Regions from separate parts of the Homo sapiens genome. Here regions 1 and 3 are each linked to region 2. Evidence: promoter capture Hi-C in 16 types of primary human blood cells and fetal thymus (Javierre and others, 2016). All regions are on one chromosome and are shown on one strand. Each heading gives the region's core, a stretch centred on a gene start or on the middle of the fragment in contact. The rest is flanking DNA. Distances are from core to core; before and after follow the strand shown. Region 1 overlaps SORT1 (sortilin 1). Region 2 holds the start of MYBPHL (myosin binding protein H like). Region 3 overlaps SORT1 (sortilin 1).

What was found. The method cuts DNA at HindIII sites, captures the fragments that hold promoters and counts their contacts. A CHiCAGO score of 5 or more calls a contact.
Region 1: a fragment that was not itself captured here is called in contact with the fragment with the promoter of MYBPHL in region 2 in 1 of 17 cell types (M2 macrophages); the score reaches 5.5 in M2 macrophages.
Region 3: a fragment that was not itself captured here is called in contact with the fragment with the promoter of MYBPHL in region 2 in 1 of 17 cell types (M1 macrophages); the score reaches 5.3 in M1 macrophages.

The regions. Positions count from the first base shown.
Region 1 is chr1:109,338,480-109,342,232 of GRCh38, reverse strand. SORT1 (sortilin 1) reads left to right here. Exons shown (of 20, transcript NM_002959.7): 9 at 75-219; 10 at 1,354-1,509. Among named protein-coding and RNA genes, the nearest start is that of MYBPHL, 33 kb to the right of the region's middle. The HindIII fragment of the contact is 2,521 bases long and covers 268-2,788 here.
Region 2 is chr1:109,305,508-109,309,497 of GRCh38, reverse strand. It overlaps MYBPHL (myosin binding protein H like), which reads left to right and starts at 2,487. Exons shown (of 9, transcript NM_001010985.3): 1 at 2,487-2,651. The coding sequence starts at 2,507. RefSeq lists enhancers at 1,491-2,229, 2,230-2,969. The HindIII fragment of the contact is 12,327 bases long and covers 1-3,990 here.
Region 3 is chr1:109,355,644-109,359,507 of GRCh38, reverse strand. All of the region lies in intron 3 of SORT1 (sortilin 1), which reads left to right. Among named protein-coding and RNA genes, the nearest start is that of SORT1, 40 kb to the left of the region's middle. The HindIII fragment of the contact is 584 bases long and covers 2,187-2,770 here.

The DNA.
Region 1 (3,753 bases), core at 279-2,778, 34 kb before region 2:
ACATTCTTGTTCATGTCCCTGCCCATGGCATCTTGGCAGAAAATTAGAAAGATAAATATTGACATCTGTTCTAGGATACAACAAGAAGGATCCACGTTTCAACAGATCAAGGGGACACATGGAGCATGGCCCAGCTCCCCTCCGTGGGACAGGAACAGTTCTATTCTATTCTGGCAGCAAATGATGACATGGTATTCATGCATGTAGATGAACCTGGAGGTAAGAGCTTTTTAGTGGCTTACCCTTAAAAGCATAGAGATGTAAGCTTTGAGCAGCTTTTATTTTTACATGTCGAGTTTTCCTCTTACCCCTAGAAATTTATTAGTGCCCTACTGATTTTTCTGTCCTAGAGATCATCTGTAGCCCCTGTTAAAAATGCCACTTGTTTTGGTAGCTTGTGTGTATGTTCAGGTGTTCTAGAGCAGAGCTGCTCAAAGAATGGTCAGCAGACTGGTACTGATTTGCAAACTATCTGTTACCAGATAAGTACAGAAATTGAGAGCAAGAGTTTGGAAACTCTTCTAGCCTTTTGACAAAGCAATTTTATGTCTGTTGGATCTAATGACAAAAAATTAGGGGTTTATGGCTGGGCGCAGTGGCTCACACCTGTAATCCTGGCACTTTGGGAGGCTGAGGCGGGCAGATCACGAGGTCAGGAGATCGAGACCGTCATGGCTAACACAGTGAAACCCCATCTCTACTACAAAAAATACAAAAAATTAGCTGGCCGTGGTGGCGAGCACCTATAGTCCCAGCTACTCAGGAGGCTGAGGCAGGAGAATGGCATGAACCCGGGAGGTGGAGCTTGCAGTGAGCTGAGATCGTGCCACTGCACTCCAGCCTGGGCAACAGAGCGAGACTCCATCTCAAAAAAAAAAAACTTAGGGGCATATATTTTGTTTACCTTTTCATTTTCTAATGATTAGTTTTTATTATGTTTTACAATAGCATCAGTTTGTGACATATTGGAAATCTTACAAATTGATCCTTCACTACAGATAGTTTGAGAAGCATTGTTCTAGAGTGTAAAGATTTAAAAATATGTAAACTAAACATAGGGCCTCTCCCACCAAAATATATCTGGGAAGAGTTTTTCTGTAGCATCTGATTAATTTATTCAACAAACTCAGCATCTGCCATATTCCAGGCACTAAGCTGGGTACTAGAATTAAAGATGGGCATAAAGATCTTGAGTATCAAACCTTGATTAATTCTCAGGTCTGAGTCTTCATCATGAAGAGACACAATTGGCTACTGTGTTTGGTCAGGCAGGTAATCGTGTGTGGTTAGACTATTGTTTTTCTCTTTGGTTCCACCCAAGACTTAGTATTTTTGTTTGTTTGCCTATTTCAGACACTGGGTTTGGCACAATCTTTACCTCAGATGATCGAGGCATTGTCTATTCCAAGTCTTTGGACCGACATCTCTACACTACCACAGGCGGAGAGACGGACTTTACCAACGTGACCTCCCTCCGCGGCGTCTACATAACAAGCGTGCTCTCCGAAGGTGAGTCTCGGCATCGCAGTGGTGTACTGTGCCTTCAGCTGCATGTGGTAGGATTTGAGGCTTCGGGGAACCTGTCCCCTAGTAATGTTGCTTGCCAAGCCAACAAGCCTACCCATGTACATTTTTTTGTTTCCTTTTTTTTTTTTATTGTGGCAATATGTCTAACAAAATTTGCAGTTTTTAACATTGTATAGGGTACAATTCAGTAGCATTAAGCACAGTCACAATGTTGCACAACCATCACCCCTATTTCCAGAGCTTTTTCATCATCCCAAATAGAAATTGCACCAGGTGCACAAGCACTCCTCGTTCCCCACCCAGTCACCCAGCTCTGGTAACCAACATTCTATTTTATGTCTCAATGAATTTGCCTATTCTAGGTAGCTCATGTAAGCAGAATCATACACTATTGGTTGTTGTATGTCTGGCTTCTTTCATTTTGCATATTGTTTCAAAGTTCAGCCACATTGCAGCATGTTTTAGAATTTCACTTATTGCTTTTTAAGACTAGAATATATTCCTTTGTTTGAATATAGCACCTTTTTTTTCTTTTTCTTTCTTTTTTTTTTTTTTTTTTGAGATGGAATCGCTCTGTTGCCCAGACTGGAGTGCGGTGGCGTGATCTCAGCTCACTGCAACCTTGGTCTCCCAAGTTCAAGGGATTCTCCTGCCTCAGCCTCCTGAGTAGCTGGGTTTACAGGTGTGTGCCACCACACCCAGCTAATTTTTGTATTTTTAGTAGAGATGGGGTTTCACCATGTTGGCCAGGTTGGTCTCGAGCTCCTGACCTCAGGTGATCTGCCTGCCTTGGCCTCCCAAAGTGCTGGGATTCCAGGCGTGAGCCACCATGCCCAGCCTGTTTTTTATTCCTCCATTGATGGACACTTAGGCTGTTTCCATTTTCAGCTCTTATGAATACTGAATGCTGCCATGAACATTGTTATACATGTAACTGTTTAAGTCAATGCTTTCAGTTCCTTTGGGGATATATGTAGGAGTGAAATAGCAGGATCACATGATAATTCCATGTTTCTCTTTTGGAGGAAATACCAATGGGTTTTCCACATGGTTGTACCATTTTACATGCAATACAAAAGGATTCCAATTTCTCTACTTCATTGCAAACACATTATATTCTCCTATTTTTGTAACAGCACTCCTAATGGGAGTGAAATACTATCTCGTTTATAGCTTTGATTTGCATTTCTCTAATGACTAAAGATGTTGAACAACTTTTTATATGCTCGTTGGCCATGTGAATATCTTCGTTGAGGAAGCTTCTAATTGAGTCCTATGGATGGCAGTGATTTTTAAAGTTGTGTTCACTGATGCTCCTCTGGTGCTTATGACAATTTTTGCACATAGTAGATGTTCAGTAATACTTGCCAAATGAGCCTACAAATAAACGGCTGAACAGCCTTGCACTCAAAACCATACAGTGAACACACTTGAAAAACATTTAAGACTGAGCCTTAAGTATGATAGGCAGGAATGGGGAGGGAAGGGCATTTTCAGCTGAAGGAAGTACACATGCAAAGTATCAGAGTCGCTGGGCGCGGTGGCTCACACCTGTAATCCCAGCACTTTGGGAGGCTGAGGCAGGTGGATCATGAGGTCAGGAGATCGAGACCATCCTGGCTAACACGGCGAAACCCCGTCTCTACTAAAAATACAAAAAATTAGCTGGGCGTGGTGGTGGACACCTGTAGTCCCAGCTACTCAGGAGACTGAGGCAGGAGAATGGCGTGAACCCGGGAGGCTGAGCTTGCAGTGAGCCAAGACCATGCCACTGCACTCCAGCCTGGGCAACAGAGTGAGACTGCATCTCAAAAAAAAAAAAAGTATCAGAGTCACAGGAGGGTTTGGCCTGGTGGTGGTGGTGAGACATTGGGTGATGCCGGGGGAGGAGGGATCAGGAGGACAGTCCAGCAGGGACAGACCAAACCCATGCAAATTCAGGCTCCCTATTTTAAATAAGTTATGATAAATAGAACTAGGAGTGAGGAGAGCAACAACAAGTAGAAAAAAAGATGTTTTGAATCTATGTTGTTTAGGTAATAAAGTGAGTCTTCTATATTGGGAGATGTAGGCCTATGAGAATAAGCCTGAATTTGACCCACTTCCTGCTCTTCTTGGTAAGGGTGCATAGCAGTAGCCAGCCAGGGTTCTTCTTGTGTTCTACTCAATGGCTCTACAGAGCTCACCTTTCCTTAGGCCCAGTTATACAAATAAACACATTAGTCT
Region 2 (3,990 bases), core at 1,238-3,737:
CAGAGAACAAGCCATTTAAAGAGCCAGGACTGTACATTTATAGCATGAAATGTATTCGGTCATCTATGAGGAAAACGTCTCACAAAAATGTGAGCCATAAATTACCTAATTTTCTTGTTCTTCATTTTCTTGCTCTTAGTGCTCATACAGATCTTCCTCCCGTGGGTGTGTATACGACCAGCTTTCTTGTTCTTCCTCCTAGAAAGTCTAGGCACCCACCCCACATACCTTCACAGGTTTCAGTTGCTACACTCTTCCTTCTGGACACAGCAACAGATAATTACTCCTTGAATTCTGTGTTCTTTTGAGCAGGTTTGACCCCTGGCGGCACTGAGAAGTTCAGCTTTGTAACTTCCCATCTGCTCCTCTTACATTTCTCTTGCTGTTCTTACGGGCCCTTTCTTGTCCCTTTCATTTAAGGACCTTTGGAGAGTTGCAGCCTTCCTCTCTTGCAAAGCATTTAAGAGAGGTTCCTGCCCACCCGTCTGGAACCGTTAGCCATCCTACCCTGCTAGCCTGGGGCAATATTCCATGTAATACTCCAGCACCTTGGTCTGAAGATGACAGGGCAAAGCCCTTGTTCCTGAGGCCCATCTGATGGGCGAGTTCCTACCCCAGGACATTATCTAAGATCGTTGTTTTATTTGAAGGAATTCTATCTAACATGGTATTCCAAGATTTCCTGCGCCAGAGTCACTAGGTTGGTTTTTTTAGGTGCAGATTTCTGGATAGCACCCCAGACCTATTGAATTAGACTTTCTGATGGGCAAACCTTAGGAACCTGCATCTTAAAGTTGATTCTTTACACCTTCGCTCCAACAAAGGGCTAAGACTCAGCCTGGGCCAATTTCCTCACCAAAAGATGGGTTACGTGTTGTGTAAAAGGGGGTGTATTTGGGGTCTCCTGGCTAGGAGACTGTCCACACTTACGGGGCCTTGGCTGGGTCAAGCAGGAAAAATAGTTCAGAAAGACCTTCAAGCTAGTTCTGATATGGCAAAAACCCAGTCTTCTGCCAACCAAATCAACCCCATAGGCCATCCAAGGCCCCAATAAACAGATTGTCCTGGGCCTTAGCTCCTATACCAGTTACAAAGAGGCTGAGCTTCTGTCACCCCAAGATAACACAGGCTCCTGGGATCTTACCAATTACCCCAAAATTGAAGGCAAAAATGAGTAAGAAGTCAGTCCATTTGTTCAACTGCACCCATTTTTTTTCCATGAAAAAAATACAGGGGTGAGTAGGGGGCTGTGGGAACCCTATACTTTCCACTCAGCTTTGCCGTGACTCTCAAACTGCTCTAAAATTAAAGCATTTTAAAATGCAGAGGGATGCTGGCTTCTGGAGATAAGAAGGTAGGAGTATGATAGGTGGCAGTGTCCATGGCATGTACAACACGTATAGAAAGATGGTTTGCTAAGTCTGGAAATCATGTAGGACCTGTAGTATGTGACTAGCACCTGCTGTGAGCTGGCCACTTTCCTATAGATTGTATCATTTTATCCTCAACACAATCATGGCATCATCCCTTGTTTCATAGACTGGGACTTGAGACTCCGAGTCGGCCATTTGCCCAGAGTCCCAGCTGGTGAGTGAGTGGTACAGCCAGAAGTCACACGCAGGTCTCTGAGCTCGCCTCCCTCCACCACTGCTGCCTCTCCCTTTATTTGTACTTCATCTAATAGGCAAGGCAGCCATTGACAGCTCTCAAAGGGGGAAGTGCTGGCCTGACCTAAAAATAGCTTACATTTATCAAGCACTTAGTCGGCTACACTCTGCTAAGCACTTTACAGAGATTACCTCTTTAATCCTCACAACGACCCTATGGTTATAATTATCTCCATTTTACAGATGAGGAAACAGACTGAAGAGAGACTGTGAGGTGTTGTGAGTCACACAGCTAGTTGGTGACAGAGCCCCAAGTGGCACCTGGGCAGCCAGTGCGAGTGCAGTCTCCACCTACCACTGCGCTGTGCCCGCTGCCCCCGGGGAGCGGGGGAGGATGGGACAGGCCCTGTAAAGGTCGAGTTGATAAGACTTTACAATTCATTGAATGTGGGAGCAGAGGGAGAAAGAGCAGTTCAGGCGTTGCTGTGAGTCAGCTAATCCTGGGCCCCTTCTTTGGGACCTGAATGCCCCACGGGATGAACTGGAGGTCAGGAGCAGAGATGTCACTCAACCCTCCCTACAGAAATTAGAGGTCCCTTTTGGATGGTGTGTTCAAGCTCTCCCTCCCTGGTGCTGTGGGGGGTGTCATCTCTCTCCCGAGATAACAGGGACACCTCAGTCCTCCTGGGGCTATTCTGGGCTGCTGTCTGATCCTCCTCTCTCCCCCAACCCCTACTTCAGCCTTTCTGCTGGGCGTAGCTGAGTGGGGAGGGCCAGCCCAGTTACGTAACCCTGTGGCTGGGACCCGGGAGGCCAGCCTGGGAGCAGGTGCTCAGCCCCTCCCTCATCACCAGCAGTGAAAATCTAGAGCTGGAGCTCAGCCTCTGGGAAGGCCCAGCATGGAGGCAGCCACAGCTCCGGAGGTGGCCGCAGGATCCAAGCTGAAGGTGAAAGAAGCCAGCCCAGCGGATGCTGAACCACCCCAGGCTTCACCTGGACAGGGGGCTGGCAGCCCCACTCCCCAGCTCCTGCCCCCTATAGAAGGTGACCCATGGCAGGTGGGGAGGGTGGGGAGGCCGGGTGGTGGGAGTTGGGGAAGACATCGCCACCTTCCTGAACGGCGCCTCAGGTTTTCTGCAGAGCTAAAGACTCTATAGGATTGGTGATTAGGCTGGAGATCATTCGTGAGAGCCCCCATCCCCTGTCCTTGATGGAGTCTAACTTGCTGCTCAAATGTCCCTGCTAAGTTTTTGTGTTTTAGCTGAGAAGTCAGTGATGGTGTTGGTGGCACTTTACAGTGACTAAAAATGATCTGTTTATATTTTTACCTTTTAAAAAATTGTCATAGGGACTGGGAAGACCTGATATACTAATGGCCAGTCAGGAAGGGACTGAGGGGTAAGAGATAGTGACTGTCTGCTGAAGGAACAGGGAAATAAAATGCTATGGCAATGGGGAGGCTAAGAGTGGGGCAGCACAGTGACACTCGGCCTCCTGCTGGGCAGTACCACGGGGTCAGGACCTCCTCCAATCCCCCACTGCTCCCATAGGAGATCCTGACCCCTCAGAGTCTGAGCTCCACGGAAGTGGAGCTCTCCTGGGAGAAGCATTCAATTTCCCCTTCACGATGGTCTCTGTGTGCCTCTCAGCAAAGAGGCGTTCCCAAGTGAGGAATTCCAACCCCGAGCTTCCTGCCGCCCATCCCTGAATGCCCTGGCTGAGGCCTCTGTAGCTAACCACTTCGTGGCGCTCACCTGAAAGTCTTAAGAGGATGAAAAGACCACAATCAAGAAACACGTGGACTCCTAGGGCAGGAAGAGGCAGGGGAAAAGATATACTAGACTTGGAGGCAAAGCTCTAGGCTCAATTCCTAGTGCCGCCTCTAACAGCCCTGTGACCTTGGACAAGTCACTGGACTGCTCAGTTTCCATTTTCACTCTGTAAAATGGTGATTAATAACATCTACCTATCAGGGTAGTTGAAAGGATTGCTGAGATGATCCAGGGTGCCTTGGAAGAGGCCAAACTAAGATGTAAATAAATGATCAAATATTTCCAAGTGAGAGGTGAAGGCTGCGTTCTACCTCCATAGGGTTGTGCAGCAGACTCTGTCTGCCTCTTATCCTCATGGGAGAGGCCAGGTTTCCAGAAACTATTTGAATGTCAAGGGCAGAGAGCTGGCCAAGTTTGTCCCGTTGAAGATGAAGGGAGCAAAAGTTAGTGTAAATATATTAAGCTGGGGTGATGGAGGCAGAAAACCAGTTTCTTCCCTTAAAAGGCCCAGAGAATAAGTGACAGGCAGCAGGAGAATGAGAGCCAGGACTGCTGACGCCTCAGCTCTCTCTACTGGTCTTCCCAAAAGCACAAGGGAGAGTGCTCATCTC
Region 3 (3,864 bases), core at 1,229-3,728, 50 kb before region 2:
AAATAAAATAAAAAGGCTTTTGAGGCTGCTGGGATGTAATGAATGTATTTTGCATGTGAGAAGGACATGAGTTTGGAGGAATGGAGTGGAGGGGCAGGGTGGGGGTGTCAGGATGCCGTACACTGAATGTTTATGTTCCCTCTGAACTCATATGTTGAAATTTTAACCCCTAGTGCGATGGTATTAGGAGGTGGGACCTTCGGTAAGTGATTAGGTCATAAGGGCAGAACCTTCACCAGTGGGATTAGTCCCCTTATAAGAGAGACCCCGAGAGCTCCCTTGCCCCTTCTGTCATGTACGGTTACAGTGACAAGAGGGTAATCTGTGAAGCAGGAAGCAGACCCTCACCAGACAGCACATCTGCTGGCACCTTCATCTTGGACTTCTCAGCCTCCAGAACAGTGAGAAATGAATTTCTGCTGTTTATAAGCCACCCAGTTTATAATATTCTTTTATAGCAGCCCTAGCTAAAATAAGCTCTATTCCAAATATATTTGTATTTTAGCATTATTTTCTTGAGTTATAAACATGTGCATGTTTACACCGTGGATACATGCAAAAATGATCATTTATTTTTGGTAACCAGAAAATGGATATTAGTGTTGATGCATAGAATTGTTATTAAAAAGACTTGTTTCTTTTTTTTTTTTTTTTTAAGACGGAGTCTCACTCTGTCGCCCAGGCTGCAGTGCAGTGGCACGATCTCGGCTCACTGCAACCTCTGCCTCCCGGGGTCAAGCAATTCTCTGCCTCAGCCTCCTGAGTAGCAGGGATTTCAGGCGCGTGCCACCATGCCTGGCTAATTTTTGTGTTTTTAGTAGAGACAGGGTTTCACCATCTTGGCCAGGCTGGTCTTGAACTCCTGACCTTGTGATCCACCTGCCTTGGCCTCCCAAAGTGCTGGGATTACAGGCATGAGCCACCACGCCCGGCCAAAAAGACTTGTTTCTAAAGCAGTTGGTTTCACAGCATTTTAACTGTTTACTTATCATTCGACGGCTGTTCATAACGCTATTAATTATCATATGGAATTTGAAAATTAGATTTATCAAAGTTGCTTCATCAATTTCCTCTTCGTGACATAGGCTGATAGAAAATAAAGTGCTAGGATCACGCCTCTAATTCTAGAGCTTTGGGAGGCCAAGGTGGGAAGATTGCTTGAGGCCAGGAGTTTGAGACCATACATATCTTCATGATATGTATGCTGATAGAAAATAAAGCTACATTTAAATAAAGCATTATGTTAAAAAATATACCCCTGGGCCCAAAGTGGCCTTGCTAGAACCCTACTTAAGTCCCAGCAGGTTGATACTAGTTCATTTTCTCCATTTATTTAACTGACTAAAGTACCAGAGTGCTGTAGCAGGTGATTTTTTGTTTTGCTCATGCTGGTTTCTTTTTTTGAAGGGCAGGGATGTGTTTGTTGTGCCAAGTTCTTAAAAAGCAAGCAGGCTTGCCAACAGGTTTGTGGAGATTCTCTGGGGATGTCATGAAGGAGGACCAATTTGTAAACTAGTACTAATCAGGCTGCTTCAACCCCTTTGGAAGATTTACAGAGCTGTTGATGATACATGCACTGTAGAGCTGGGAATTGTTTATGCACATCTCTTGGCCAGCTGTCAGGAAGATAAGAGCTGATCTACTGCAAAGCCAAAGAAAGGGTAATATAATATAGGACTCTGTTGGGTGGCGCCCAATTGTATTTCATTTATCTAGGAATTTTCTGTGTGTGTGTATGTACTTAAGGAAGGATAGAGTCATTCAGACAACTTAGACATATGTAGTTTGTTTCAGCATATTATCAGGGACCTCTACATACACACATGGATACTTCCCTTCTGTCTCCAACTTTCTCTTAGCTGATCTCTTCTGCCAGGTCATAAGCCCCCAGCAAGACAGAGGAAGACCCCAGTTTGTAAGGGAAAAAATCCTCACAGATAATTAAAAGTTATCTCCAGTTTAGGGCTAAAGGTTCAGAGAATTGGACTATAGTTTCAATTTTGCCCTTAATTAACTAGTTGACTTTTGATAAATTGCCTTCCCTTGCAACTCCTCATCTGTGAAATGAGGGAGTTGGACAAGATGTTCACTTCAGCCCCTTACACTGCTCATGGTTCTGCAATTCTTTATTTGTTGAGGCCGCTACCAAAACCTGTAACATCATTTACATCATGTACATTCAAGCTTCGCTTAATGATGGGGATACATTCTGCGAAGTGCATCATTAGGTGATTTCATTATTGTGCAAACATCACAGAGTGTACTTACTCACACCTGGACAGTATAGCCTGCTACACACCACAGCTATATGGTATAACTTCTTGTTCCTAGGCAACAAACCTGTAGAGCATGTTACTGTACTGAATACTGTAGGCAGCTGTAACACAGTACTAAGTATCTGTATATTTAAACATAGAAAAGGCATGGTAACAATATGGTTTCATAATCTGGACTCACCATCATATAAACAGTCCATTGGTAACCAAAACATCTTCATGCAACACATAACTATATTCTATCATTGAAGACCACTGCAGATTACATTTATCTGTGTGCAGAAATTTGCAGTGCACAGCAGTCTTCATTGATGGATACTTAAATTTAATGAACATTAAGATTTAGCATTTTGTATTGTGTAAGAGAGCTATACATAGTATTAAACCTGTCAGGGTTAGACAGCTATGGAATTTTTGCTTTTATTTTCCAGAATCTAAACATGGATTCGAATACTTCTCAAAGATATTGTTGGAATGAACTTTTGGAAAAAGCTTGGAAACTCTGAGAGTTGAGATTAAGTTTGTTTGTTTTTCCTAGCTGTATTTCATGTACTGAGTGCCTTACAGACTTCTGCCTAGGGATGGTAACTTCTATGGGGAAAAACTTCAAGAACTTGCTACAGCTTCATTTACAGCTTTTTCATAACTACTGTGGATTAATAGATTAGTTAGAAGCCTTTGGGAGCACTTTGCATAGATCTCACCTTAAACTAACCTGAATAATAAGGGAATAGTTGATTCTGTAACTAAGTACAGAGGAATGACAGGCTTCAGGGTCGATTCAATTCAGTGTCATAGGCTCTGCTTCTCGGTATTCTGAAATTACCTTCTCTGTGCTCCCATTGTGACAGAATGACGATAGCAGTCTTTACTGTGTGTTCACATACTGCATCATTGGGGTTTCTCAACCTTAGTACTCTTGACATTGGGGCCAGGTAATTCTTTATTATTGTGGGACTGTCCTGTGCCTTGTAGGATGTTTGGCAACATCGCTGGCCACTACCCACTTAATGCCAGTAGCACCTCAGCCCTTCATTGTGATAATCAAAAATGTCTGTAGGACCGGGCACAGTGGCTCATGCCTGTAATCCCAGCACTTTGGGAGGCCGAGGCGGGCGGATCACTTTGAGCTTGGGAGTCAAGACCAGCCTGAGCAATGTGGTGAAACCCCGTCTCTACTTAAAATACAAAAATTAGCCAGGCGTGGTGACACGGACCTGTAATTCCAGCTACTCGGGAGGCTGAGGCTGGAGAATCACTTGAGCCTGGGAATTGCACCACTGAGCTGAGATTGCATCACTGCACTCCAGCCTGGGTAACAGAGTGTGATCTTGTCTCAAAGGAAAAAAAAAAAGTCTGCAAACATTACCAAATGTTTCTTGGGGGACAAAAGCACCCTGATTGAGAACTGCTGGTCTGAAGGAATATAGACCATTTTATCAGGTAGCTATCATAAGTGGGAGGCAGTGTGCTTCCTAGAAGACCCCAAATTTCCCACCCACCTTTTATCTCCCATTGGCTCATCCTGAGTCACTCCCCGATTCCTGAACCCCCATCACTGGTGAGTGGGTTTGTGGGGGGGGGGGCG